2 separate regions of the Homo sapiens genome follow, and region 1 is linked to region 2. Evidence: promoter capture Hi-C in human tissues and cell types (Jung and others, 2019). All regions are on one chromosome and are shown on one strand. The core of a region is centred on a gene start or on the middle of the fragment in contact, and the rest is flanking DNA. Distances in the headings are between cores, read along the strand shown.

Region 1 (3,776 bases), core at 401-2,900, 150 kb after region 2:
TTTCCTCCTGGATTGGGACTGAAGTTTTTGGAGATGTCCTGCAAAAGCTCTGTAGATCTCTGTTGGCTACACAAAATGGCAAAAGCCACAGCTGCAGAAATTGTTGCAAACTTTTCATTTGCTTCATCATCAAATGAAGATCTCTACTATTACTTTTGAGTTTGGAGTTAAATGCTGGTGACCTTCATCTTTATGCTGAAGCTTTGGTGACTGTCTATACCATCTGATCTACACAATGTATTATTACCTTTGAAATCAACTCTTTTTGTCCCTTGTGGAAATGCACCTCTGCTGGGGTGTTTTGGTGCTCTATATTGTCATTAGGTAACACCCACTTGCATTAAAAGACTTTGTCAGGGCCCAGCGCATAGTCAGTATTCCGTGCTATCAGTGTGTGTTCAGATTCTCCTCTTACTGGTTTTCTTAGACTGTACTGTTTTCTAAGCAAATGCCCATGTGTGATTTTTAAGATGTGCTGGGGAAAAATAAATCAATACCACAACCAAAAAAAAAAAAGACTTTGTCTTTAGAACCAATTTCCCTTCCACTTCTAATTACTGGTTCCTTAGCAAATGAATACACTAACTAGCCAATAATATAGATAGATAGATAGATAGATAGATAGATAGATAGATAGATAGATGATAGATAGATAGATAGATAGATAGATAGATAGATAGATAGATATAGATATTCATTTTAGCCTAGGCCTGGTGGCTCATACCTGTAATCTCAGCACTTTAGGAGACCAAGGTGAGAGGATCACTTGAGGCCAGGAGTTTGAGACCAGCCTGGGCAACATAGCAAGACCCTATCTCTACAAAAAAAAAAAAAAATTTATCGGGGCATGGTGGCGCACACCTATAGTCCCAGCTACTCAGAAGGTTGAGGTGGGAGGATCCCTTTAGCCCCGGAATTCGAGGTTGCAGTAAGCCATGATCAAGCCACTGCACTTCAGCCTGGGTGACAGAGTGAGACCCTGTCTCAAGAATAAAACAAAATCCTCATTTTAGAGCTAGTGTTTCATGCCTTTTTCAAGGGGCATAGAAAAGTAGCAAAGAGACCTAATGTGGTTCAGTGGGAAGAGCACAGGCCTTGCGACCCATCAGGAAGTCAAGGTGTAGATTATAATCAAAGCACCAGCTGTACTACTGCCTGTTATTGATGGGACCTTCAGCAAAGTGCTCAAGTTCTCGAGTCACAGTGAAATGGTGATAATAACGACCATTACATCAAATTCACAGGGCGAGGTGAGGATGGTGTTTGTGAAAATCTTTGAAAACTGGGAGCTACTAAGGTTATTTCCAGATTCCATTGCCTTTTTTCAGAAAACAACTTTATTGAGATAAAATTCACATACCATACATTTCACCCATTTCAAATGTACAATTCGGTGGTGTTGGTATATTCACAGATCTGTGCAGCCATCAGCACAGTCAATTTTAGAAAAATCACCTCATAAAGAAACCCATACCCTTTAGCTGTCATCTCCCTGGCCCCTTCCATTGCCTGTTTAATTTTGATTTTGTGTTTATTTATAGAGACTTTCTGATAATTTTTAAAATTAAGTTAAGTAAAAATAAGATTACTTGTGGATGACATTAAAATACTGTTTCCTATGAAAAGTGTCTCTGTAGGGCTTTCCAGTTAATGATCTAAATGCATTGGCAGGATGAGGGATGATGAGCTAAGTGTTAATAAATGACACTGCTAGGAAGATTACAATTCAAATCTATTTCTATTTTGAGAAGCAGAAAAGATGGATGAGTACTCACTGTTACTGTTGAAGTCACGGTACCATGAAAGCCGCTCATTAAACCAGGATGGGTCTCTGGGAAGGCAGGGAGAGGGAAGAGCGCGCTGATGAGCGGAGGCTGGATGGGAGCTGCCCCCAGGAGTGGATCTTCCTAGCCCAGGAATTCCACACCACCAGGAAACTGCTGGACTGTTCCTTACCTGAACTTCCTAAGCCCATGAATTGGGCTTCATGCAGCAGAACTAGGGAGGAAAGGATAGGAAGAAGGAAGGGAGGAAGGAAAGGAAGGAAGGAGAAAGGAGCCCCTCCAGGAACACCTTTATTTTGTGCACAGCCCAAAGCAGGAGTGTTGAAGCAGGGTGAAAATCTGTGTGTGCAGTGTTGGCTGTAGGAAAGGGAACTCACCCTTGGCCTCCTTTTTGTTGCAGGCCGCCAGATCCCACCCTTGGACCCCCATGAAAATGGAAACAATGGAACAATCAAAGTTGAGAAGCCAACCATGCAAGCCAGCCGCCGGTGCTGTTGACCCAAGGGCCGTGGTCCACGGTACTTGAAGAAGCCAGAGCCCACATCCTGTGCACTGCTGAAGGACCCTACGCTCGGTGGCCTGGCACCTCACTTTGAGAAGAGTGAGCACACTGGCTTTGCATCCTGGAAGACCTGCAGGGGGCGGGGCAGGAAATGTACCTGAAAAGGATTTTAGAAAACCCTGGGAAAACCCACCACACCACCACAAAATGGCCTTTAGTGTATGAAATGCACATGGAGGGGATGTAGTTGCATTTTTGCTAAAAAAAAAAAAAAACCTTTAAAAATTGTTGGATGTGTACAAAAGTCTTACTGCCTTATTATGTGTATGGGATTCTAAAGTGGCATTCCACTTGGATTTCCTGTGCTACCTATCCAAATTCCAGTAACTACTTCAGTGTCATTGCCTTTGTTACCTAACCAACCTTCACTGAAAGGCAAATTTAGTTCAGGAGGTTAGTTTTTAGCTAGCTTTGGAAGTAAGCCTTTATTTATTACTTTTTGGAGGAAATCAGAGAAGTGTCAATGGACCGTCACTCAGACTGAGACTTGAGTTATTACAGAAGCCAGGAAAAGTGTATTAGAAACTGTTGTCTACACCACTTTTAATTGGTGAACAATTTTTCTAAGTTATGGTCATATATACCCAAACAAACCAAATCAAACTAAATTACTGCATATAATTTTGGGATTGGGTGGCCTAGTTTGAAAGAGTGATTTAAGTAATCACTATGTAAGTGGTGAGAGATGCAGGACATACACATTATTCAAGAGACCACCTGACATGCATCTCCTCCGCAGGAATACATTCGTCCTCTCTTAGAGAAGTTTAACGCACATAGTATTATTTTACTAAGAGAATATCTCTTGGTGTCATATCTAGGGGAAGAGAATTAACTAGAATTAAATTTAATGTTTGAATCTAAATCATTGGGCAAACTTCTAATAATAACAATTAATAATAGGTTACAGGAAAGCCAGCCAGAGGAAGTGTCAGCACTTTAAAATTCTAGACCCCAAAAAACTACAAAATCAGAAAAAGTATTTTTATGTTTCTAGCTTGAGGAGAAGGGCTTTAGGGCTAACCAGAGGTCTGACCCTAGAATGCCAAGGAACTGAGAATGGGCTCCGATGAAAACCTTCCTTTTCAGATTCCCTGTCTGCTCAATTAAAGATGTTTGAATCCAAAGGAAGTCAAGGAAGAAAAAGCATGGAAAGGAAGAGAACTGATTCCTACTGAAAATTCAAATTCTATTACCATTCTAACTTTCATAAAAAGTTGGGATCAAGAAGCAGCTGATTTCCTGCCAGGGCTTATATTAGGGGGTGATTCTTAAAGGACATTAGGATTGGTGCTCAGAAATGGTTAATCATGCTGTGTGCTAGCCAGGGCCAGCTGGTACCTTCTTTGCCATGAGCATTCAAGGGACGGCTAACCTTTATTGACAATCTATATCGCAAAAGTCAGGAAAGAGGTTGTGAGCTGATTGGA
Region 2 (3,671 bases), core at 624-3,123:
GGGAGAAGGACAAATAGACTGGGGCGATTCTCAGGGAGGGAAGGGCTGGATACGAGACTCTTTTGGGAGAGCCTAGAAACGACGCAAGCGTCCCAGACACCCGGGCTAGTGGAGAAGAGAGCAGAATGAGAGCAGTCATGAAAAAGAGTAAGGGAACACAAGAGAAATTCGGTTTGCCTATTTCTGTCTGGGCACAGTTCTGCCCTTAGCAATCTAAGGCAACTTCACAAAGCTCCACTCACTGCACGGGATGTAGAACACAGTGGAGGCTTCCACCCTGGTTTGACTGGCTTTTGGGAATCAAGCTGGAAAGCCAAAAGGACATGTTTCACTGTGGAGGTGCCCTCAGGGCTGGCGAAGGCCTTGGGGGAGGTGTCTTTGCAACTGTGTAGGGGTGGTTTTCTGATTAGCAAATCTGAGGGCAGGGAGATATTGTGATCAGGACTGTTTGATTCTGGGGAAGCCTCTTTTTACCCTGCCCACATAGAAGACTCTGCTTTGGATACAGAGTCAAGGACGGATACTGATACAATGGACCTGTAACTTGTCCATGGCTGCCTTTTGTACAGTTTAGTCCATTTGAGTAATCTCTACAAGCCTGCACCTCGAGGGCAAACTTCCTGCTCTTCTGGGGAATTTAATTGTGAATTGTCTGTTTCGGGGCCCATTTTGACTCCTGTATTCCAGGACTTATCTCTTTGGAGGCCTTGATTTGGAATTTCCCATTGGATGGGGCTACTTGGGTACTGGGTAGCTTCAACCTGGCTTCCGTAAGAACAAAGCCAGATGATCACGGTGGGTGGTCTGCTAGGAGAATGGAAATGCCATTGATTAAAATTGGAAGGTTAAGAGAGAGGCCTGAGAGTTTGGGATAGGAGATGAAGTTTCAAAAAATCAGTTTTTAAAAAAACATTTCCCATCTGAAATGCCAGTGAATTGTTCAGATAGATTACATTGAAAAGGCTGACATTTCTGTAGCAGCAACGAATGAAGTCATCCGAGTGGATGAGGTGCTCTAGGCCATACATGGAGAAGAGAACACAGTTACCCAAGCCTCCCCGACTGTGTGCGGCCACAGACTCTGCTCATTTCCCAGTTAGGAACGATGCAGGGGTCTGCTGGGATCTCCACGTTTCTACCTGTACCTCTGAGGACTGGGTTTCTGCCCACACGAGTTGCAGGATTTGCTCTACTGAGAAAAAGACTTTTGCTCCAGAAAGCAAGTTTCCCGTTTCAGACACGGACAGCGAGTTTTGCTTCTAGAATCATTTTCAGCTGCATACAGAAAAATGAACTTGGCTGAGCTGAAGAGCCACACATATGTTAAACGGAAGCTCGGGTATTAGGAACGTCGAGAAAGGCAGGCCGAAAAGTTAGCCCCCTTCTCCTCACCCCTGTCCTCACAGCGGCCCCTTCAGTGGCCTGACTTTTTCTGCGTGGGACCCAGAATGTCGCTTGAGGATGGGACCCCCGCAGACCTCCACGCGCTGCCACGCAAACGGCCTCGGCCGAGAGCATTCGCTTTCCAGATGAGAATGGCATCTTCAGGGACCCGCTGGTAGTGGGGCCAGGTCTCCACAGGGCCGGTCCAGTCCTTCCTACCCACCCGGGCCCTGCGGCCAGGCGGGGCCGGGAGGGGCGGATGCCGGAGGGCGCTGGGGGAGGCCGACCCGCGCGGGGCTGGTCCGAGGGCGGAGGCAATCCGCCGGCGACGCCGCAGGTCCCGGGTGGCTGACGCCGTCCGGGGGCGTTCCTGGGAGCTGGGGGCCGGCGAGGCTGGACCCGACGCGCCCGGGAGGAGCCGGCCGGCGGCCACGTGACCCACCGCGGCGGGGCCGGCGGCCCAGAAATAGCAGCGGCGGCGGTTCCGCCCGCGGGCGGCGCGAGCGAGGGGCAGAGGCGAGAGACGCCGGCGGGGCGCGGGCGCGGCGGCCCCGGAGGATGCTGCTGAGCCCCGGCACTGCCTGGCTGCGAGCACATGATGGCGATACGGGAGCTCAAAGTGTGCCTTCTCGGGGTGAGTCCTGGCCGCCACCCGCCGGCGGACCCCGGCCCGCGCTCTCGCGCCCCTTCGCTCCCCTATTCCCTGCGCGCTCAGTCCCCGTGATCCCCTCGCTCTCCGCACCCCTCTCGTAGCCCCCGTCCCCCTCGTCCGCGCGCCCCCTGGTTCCCCGGGTCCCCCTGGCTCCCCTAGTCCGTGCGCCCCTCGCTCTCCGCGCCCCTCGCTCTCCGCACCCCGCCTGTTCTCCGCCTCCCCGCCGTCCGTGCGCCCCTCTGGTCCGCCCCCGCTCTCACCCTGCCGGGGTCCGGGTCCGAGCCTGCCCCGGGCTTACTCCGCTCTTTCCTCCCGGCCCGCGAGTCCCCGGATCCGCGGCGACCTCGCGGGGACCCCCAGCGGGGACGGGGCAGTGGCGGCGAGTCTGGGGCCCCGAGGGCTTTCTCCTCCGCTTTTGATAGTTTCCTTCCGGCAGAAAGTTTAAGTTGCTCAGCCAAGTCGCTGAGTGCTCTTTTGCCTCCTGGGGGCAATTGATTTACTCACGTAAAACAGAAAAATAAAACCAAAAGCGAACCCAGCCAAGGGGGTGAAAGCCGAGGGCGCGGCCGGGGTGGAAGGTGAGGCAGTGACCTGTGCGGAGCGCGCCCTGCAAACTTCCCTGCTGCGGGTGAAAGAAGCTGCCTGGGAAAGTCCTCCCCACCATCACTCCCCTAAAGTGGGGTTTTCTCCGCCCGAAGAAGCCTTAAAGCAGCCAGAAACAAAAAAGCAGTCAATCCGTGCGGCCCGGGGACTGCAGACAGGGGACCCGGCGAGGACGCAGGGAGCCGCTGGCGAACCGCCCCTGGGAATTCAGATAAACGTAGGGTCGCTTCCTTTCGGGGGCCCACTCCGCATTCCAGAATTCCTTCTTCTAAAAGAAGAGCCGGTTCTAAGGGCGTTTTCAGCAGCCATTAGCATCTGGTGTACCCGCCCGTGTCATTGGCAAAGCTGGTCTCATGAAAACCATTTCCTAAAAAAGGGCAGCGAAAGGGTCGCATTCTTGTGCGAACTGATCTGTCAAGATGGGGGTACAAGAACTGTAGAAAGAGGAAATGATTTCGGTGAGGACTGAATTGTGCCAGCGTCTCTAGGCTTCCTCTAGGCTCTTGTGGAACCTCCGGCAGGCTCCCATCATCGGCTCCCATCACCGGCCTCTTCCAAAACCATCCCTTACGCTAACTCGATTGTCCGGTTGGCTTAGAATTCCAGAGGATCTGGGAAGGCCCTGCCCTCCCTGCTAGCCCCTGGCACAGATCCGCACAGATCCCCACCTCCCCCGACTTGCTCAGCCACAGCCAGGATCTAGTCTGGTCTTTCTCTGTTGACCTTTTTGTGTGGCAGGAGTGGGTTTTCCTGTTCCCCAGGCCCTCTAATATTTCCAGACATAAATTCCAGGAATCCCATGCTTCCCTCTTGAGGGGCCATTTCAGCCTCAGGAAAGGCCTTCAGAGACTTAGAAGGAATGTCGTGTTCCAAGGAATGAAGAGGCAGCCTTGATGTGCCGTGTTTGTCAGGACTGGCCTTGGGAAAGGTGAAATAGGACATATTTTTGCCTTTTTTTCTGCAACTCTTTTCTCTTGACTTTTACTGAGGTGGTCCAAGCCCTGCCGTGTCACAGGACCCCTTATTTTCAGTT

The links. Contacts are between HindIII fragments. The study calls those that stand out against the background at their distance.
Region 1: a fragment that was not itself captured here is called in contact with the fragment with the promoter of RAB31 in region 2 in 1 of the 25 tissues and cell types used here (lymphoblastoid cells).

Annotation. Positions count from the first base shown.
Region 1 is chr18:9,857,044-9,860,819 of GRCh38, forward strand. RAB31 (RAB31, member RAS oncogene family) reads left to right here. Exons shown (of 7, transcript NM_006868.4): 7 at 2,185-3,776. The coding sequence ends at 2,282. Among named protein-coding and RNA genes, the nearest start is that of TXNDC2, 27 kb to the right of the region's middle. The HindIII fragment of the contact is 5,057 bases long and covers 1-3,776 here.
Region 2 is chr18:9,706,428-9,710,098 of GRCh38, forward strand. RAB31 (RAB31, member RAS oncogene family) reads left to right here and starts at 1,874. Exons shown (of 7, transcript NM_006868.4): 1 at 1,874-2,017. The coding sequence starts at 1,979. LOC124904244 (a long non-coding RNA gene) reads right to left here and starts at 1,545. Exons shown (of 2, transcript XR_007066281.1): 1 at 1-1,545. It overlaps LOC105371981 (a long non-coding RNA gene), which reads left to right and starts at 2,245. Exons shown (of 2, transcript XR_935131.2): 1 at 2,245-3,566. RefSeq lists silencers at 1,569-2,138, 2,239-2,468. The HindIII fragment of the contact is 12,091 bases long and covers 1-3,671 here.